Regions from separate parts of the Homo sapiens genome. Here region 2 is linked to region 1. The links are contacts of gene promoters, found by promoter capture Hi-C in blood cells and fetal thymus (Javierre and others, 2016). All regions are on one chromosome and are shown on one strand. The core of a region is centred on a gene start or on the middle of the fragment in contact, and the rest is flanking DNA. Distances in the headings are between cores, read along the strand shown.

Region 1 (2,775 bases), core at 183-2,682:
TTCTTTGAAACGACTTAACATTTGGTCAGGGATAGGAAAGTTGAACAGGAAAATGTACATCAAAATTTTAACTTGGAAAAAAACATAAGGTGTATAAACTTATAGTGGACTGAATTTTTATATTATTAGAGAACTAGAAAAGGCTTTTCCACAAGGGTATTGTAGAGGGCGTTTAGATAATCAGCCTAATAAATGGGTCAAGTGTTTCTTCTTGTTTTTCTTTCCTAAGAGATGCTTTGAAATCTCCCACTTTGAAATCCAAATTCTCTTTAAATTTAATCTCCCATCCTCATATCTCCTTGATTTTTCTGAGAGATTTTAGAGATGATGTCTTTTTGCACAAACACTAACTCTAAGGCGACTTCCAGTTCTGAAATGTATAATCATTGACTCTACACTTGCTTTTAAAAATTCTGATCTGTTGAATTTTGAAATTTTAACCAATTTCACTAACCTTTCAAGTTTTTCTCATTTTCCTAACTTAATGTGAAATACAGGACATTTTGCCATGCCACTCTGACTACTCATCTTATAGATGAAGGAAGGATTCTGAAAGGTGCTCTAATGACTATAATTATCATAGGGACCACATATTGAGCACTAACTACATGGCAGGCCTGATTTGAGGGCTTTTGCATATGTCAAGCCAGTGAAGCCTCTTAGCATCCCTGGGAGGGCAGTTTTACAATTCTGGTAGTACCAAATGAGCAACTGAGGATGAGAAACATTAAAGAACCTGCCCGAGGTCATATGCCTAACAGTAAATGATAAAGCTGAGGTGGAATGCGGGGCGGGCTGCCTGTCTCCAAAATCGTATGAGGCTCCCTTGGGTGGAAAGTGATCCAACTCCAGCTTCGTCCTTGTCACCTTATTTGCTAAGTAGCTACTAAGGCCAGCAGATTTGATCAGGGTGCAAGCATGAAGCTAAAGATCATTATAAAGCAGTTGTACTGGGTGGATTAAAAGTTCGTGAAAACAAAACAAGTTCCTTGGTGGTATTATGGGTTTCTTCTTTCCTCTCTCCTTTCCCCTTTCCCTTCCTTTAAACCTTTGGTACATCAATAAACACTTGTTCATATAAAATGGAGGTCGAGTTTCTATTACTGCTTAGCTGAAAACACCTACAAATGTTCACAGGAACTTTAGTGACTACCAGTCTAGATAAGCACTTGAAAATAAGAAAGAACAAGCTCCGCGAGAGCAGAGATGCCTTCAGATTTTATTCGCGAAGGCACCCCACGCTCCTAGAAAAGAGCACGACGCACCCGATGCTCGGATTGGATGAAGTGGCAAAGGTAACCCCGCTGGTTCGGGCGTTTGGCTGTTCCTGTGCCTGGACCCCCGCTTTGGAAATGGAGGTGGGGCTGGCTCCCAACCTGTCTCAGAGACCCTCGCACTCCTCCCCCACCTTCCGTCAGCTGGGACCCGCTGAGAGCCGTTTTTGGTCACGCGCGCTTAGCGGATAGACCTGCAGTCCCGCAGAGAGGAAGGGCGCCCGGGCTGTCCGCCGCGCGGGGAGGACGCGAGCACCCAGGTGACGTCCCGCGGGCTGCCGCGCGAGGGCCGGGCTCTGGCGTGGGCGCGCCCCAGGGCCCGTGGGCTGCGCGCCCGGGAAGGTCTGGCGCCTGGTCCACCAGTCGCCCCTCCCCGGGGCTGGCTCGCCGGTAGTGTCTGATTGCTGGGGGATCCCCCTCCATCCCCAGAAGGTACAAAGTTTGGCTCTGTGGAGGCACCTACGAGACGGAGCGGGGCGGGTGGGTGGCCGGCTGGTTTCACACTCGGCAAAGAAAATGGAAACACAGGTGGGAAAAGAAAAAGGGAGTGGCTTTCCGGGAAGCAGCGGCCCCGACCGAGACCGCTGGAGCGCGCCGGGCTAGTTCATCCCGGCTCTCCATGGGGACTAAAGAGGCTGAACTGAAGTGGCGAAGGCGAGGAGGCGATCACTGGCTTGTTTGCTAAGAGTTCGGGAAGGCTTTTTTGAACTAGAAAAGACAAATTCAGTTCTTCCTCCAGGTAGATCCCCGTGTCCCCTGTACGCGCCTCCGGACGGCCTTCTGTGAAGCCCCCATTCCCACTTAGTTAACTTAGTTAATATTATTCCTCTGTCACAGGACTCCTGCACGGTCAGGTCATCTGAACTCCTCAGTGGCCCTAGGGAAGTTAGTTAGCGGCTGTCAGAGAACTGGGGAAAGTAGGCAGGTGGTAGCCTAGGCCCTTTGCAACTCAGCTGGGGCTTCTGACAGCCTTTGAAAAATTCTTTCTAAAAATGTGCTTCTTGTATTTTTTAATGAGGCTTTGCCCCAAAGCCTAATATCTTTGTTTGAGGTGGAATCTTCTTATTAAAATGGCCCTGAAGCTACCACTAAAGAATCAGGCATGAACACAAAATCTTCTGGATTTGAGGAATGCGCAGTTCTAATTTCATAGAACTTAGCTCAGCGCAAATGGGGAGGCAATCTGTTTTCAATGAATGTTTTCTGACTTCTTAATAATGCATTTTTCTACTTAAATAATAACCTGTTTGTTAGTATAACTTAGTGGGTAGAGATGGGGGGGTGGGGATGCTGACTGGCTGGAAATGACTGGATTGGGTTGGTAACCCATTATTTGTGTTTCATTTGGATCAGGCATATGTTTAATGTCACAATTGAATTGGCCTTTTGCAGAGCAGACATGCCCTCACTTACTGTCTTATGGCTATGACAAGATAATTACAAGGGCAATGTTATTCGACTCTTAGCCTAACACAGACTATTAGACTGCACAAAGCATTCC
Region 2 (2,775 bases), core at 114-2,613, 530 kb before region 1:
TCAGGCTCAGTGGGTTGGTGATGTATTAAAGAATGTCAGTGTCATTTAAGAGTTTTAGAATTGCAGAGTTTAAATACATTTAGCAGTGAAAATAGTCCAGGTATTGCTGAGCTTAACAATAGAAGTACTTGGTGAAACCCTTAATGCAATACCTGTACGAAATGTTTTGATATAGCAAATGGTAGATAAAGTCTTGTGTATTACTGTAGAATCTTTTCAAATTTTTAAATGCTTATAATTAGACCAAGAAAACGTTCTCTTTAAATAGACAGTACTGCGCAAGAAGCTTCAGAAAGCTTCTTCTAATCATTTTGAGAAAAAGATGGGTAGATTATAAGTAAATAATTTATGGATATGTTTCAAGGAACTATGAGCATTAATACTATAAGCATACATTGGGGTCTTTTGTATCATCTAAAGTATGCTGGAAACTTATCAACTATAACAACACCGACTGTTAAGGTGACTTGAGTACAATGCTTGGGGTATATAGATCTCAGTGTATCATAGGTAAATAAATATTTCACTTTTTTCTTTTTAGTTCTTTTATAGGCAAGACTGGAAAAAGAGATTTTTTGTTTGTGGAGTCTTACAATGTTTTTAAGATTTTCTGCCAAATCTGAATTATCCACAAACAAATGTAGTTTACTTATTGTAAGTATTAATGTGACCTTATCAAATTCATAGAGATGAAGGTGAAATCTAATTCAGGCTGCATTCCTGGCCAGACTGCCCGGAGTTCATATTCTGCCATAAAAACCTGATGAAGTCGTATTAGTGGATGACTAAAAACAAATAATTCTAAATGAACTTAATCCTGAGTGATTATTCTTCCAAATGCAAAGGACCACACAGTGGTGCAGAATCCTAGTCCTAGATGGTCAAAGCTATATTTTATCTCCCAAAACACCACCTAAAACAAAGCACCATTCTCCACTAGGGAAGTGATACAGAGTTGATGCATTTAGCTTTCCCAAAACTAACACAAATGTGTGGATTTTGAGGTGTTAAACACCTTTACTTACTCTTGTGGATTTATAGCCAATCTCCCTTCAAGGACTATAATATAATTTGGAAGGCTGTTTTCCCTCTGGGTGACTTTACCTGTAAGCTTTTGTATAACAATTTGGTGGTGGTTTGTTGATGATATGATGCTATTATGAAGGATCCTTCTACCCCCTGCTCCTCTCCTTATACCCACATAACAACCCTTTTCCCGGTTGGGGCTGTAGGAAATGAGTAATGCTTAACCCATTTGTGTGATCAATTCACTTAAGCAGCTACTGTGAAATGTTAATCACAACTTTAATTTGTACTGCATTAGCATTTTGATTAACTTGTAGGCTTGCTAGCACACTTGAAGCGCTTTTACTCATAGTTACAGCTCGGAAATGACTTTTTGATTAATTAAGTTTGTTAGACAGCAGCTGAGCTTCCTGAATGCTAACCTTCTGGGGGTAAAAGTTCAGGAGAAAGTTACTATGAACAACTGTTGCTATTGAAAAAGATTCTTATAAATGTACTTATAGCATTTTAATTATTGACAAAATATTGTATCATTACTTGCAAGTGACCTGAACCTTTAAAGGAGTGGCTTTTCTGTCAAGAAAGCTTTTTCAGGTTTTCCCATCATTGTAAAACTTCTGGGAGCTCTTGAACTAAATAGTGCATTTTCTAGCAGATGTCTAACAACTAATGTTTTAACAAGCTGCCTAGGATCAATTTCCGTAATTTTTTTAAATAAACTTTTTGCTTGAGAATAGTTTTACATTTCCAGAAAAGTTGCAAAGATAGTACAAAGTTCCCATATACCTAGAACCTATTTTTCTTCTAATATTGACGTCTTAAATATATTAGTAAGGTACATTTGCTACAATTAATAAGCCAATTTTGGCAAATAATTATTAACTAAAGTCTATACTTATTCACAATTCTTTTTCACCTAATATCCTTTTTCTTTTTAAAATTTTTTTCTTGATATATAATACTTGTACCTATGTTGAGGGTACATATAACATTTTGATACAGGTATACAATGTGTGATGATCCCTAATGCCGTTTTCTATTCTGGAGTCTCATTGTAGATATCCCTTTAAATTCAGTAGTCATTTCTCCGGCTCCTCTTGGCTCTGAAAGTTTCTCAAACTTTCCTGTTTTTGATGATCTTTCCATAGTGTTTTGCATTCTTGTGATACTTTATAAATAACAACTTGGTTTTTATAAATTAATGTAATTTTTCTCATTTTGGCATAAATAAATTTCTTTCTTTTAAACTCTGATGACAATATATCATCCCCATGTCATTTAATTTGAACAGACATGCCTCACTTCAACCTTTGTCATGATCTTATTTTCTCTTTTCTTTTTCTTTTTCTTTCTTTCTTTTTTTTTTTTTTTTTTTTTTTTTTTGAGACAGGGTCTCACTCTGTCACCCACACTGGAGTATAGTAGCCTCAACCTCCTGGGCTCAAACGATCCTTCCACCTCAGGCTCCAAGTAACTAGGACCACAGGCACACACCACCACACCCAGCAATTTTTTTTTAATGGGATCTCACTGTTTCCCAAGCTGGTCTTGAACTCCTGGGTTTAAGTGATTGTCCTGCCTTGGCCTCCCAAAGTGCTGGGATTACAGGCGTGAGCCACTGCTCCTGGCAGTGATCTTATTTTCGTATGTTTATTGTAATCCCTATACTAACACTAGATACATTAAGATGATGACAAGAGATATGGGAAAAAGGAGGAAAGGTTCCTTGAAGAGGAGGAAGGATAAAGG

What was found. The method cuts DNA at HindIII sites, captures the fragments that hold promoters and counts their contacts. A CHiCAGO score of 5 or more calls a contact.
Region 2: a contact is called between a fragment that was not itself captured here and the fragment with the promoter of MCHR2-AS1 in region 1, in 8 of 17 cell types (M0 macrophages, erythroblasts, M2 macrophages and 5 more). The highest score is 8.8, in M0 macrophages.

What each region holds. Positions count from the first base shown.
Region 1 is chr6:99,992,695-99,995,469 of GRCh38, reverse strand. MCHR2-AS1 (MCHR2 antisense RNA 1) reads right to left here and starts at 1,432. Exons shown (of 3, transcript NR_038384.1): 1 at 1,266-1,432. MCHR2 (melanin concentrating hormone receptor 2) reads left to right here and starts at 1,247. Exons shown (of 6, transcript NM_001040179.2): 1 at 1,247-1,534. The HindIII fragment of the contact is 7,930 bases long and covers 1-2,775 here.
Region 2 is chr6:100,524,791-100,527,565 of GRCh38, reverse strand. All of the region lies in intron 37 of ASCC3 (activating signal cointegrator 1 complex subunit 3), which reads left to right. Among named protein-coding and RNA genes, the nearest start is that of SIM1, 61 kb to the right of the region's middle. The HindIII fragment of the contact is 500 bases long and covers 1,114-1,613 here.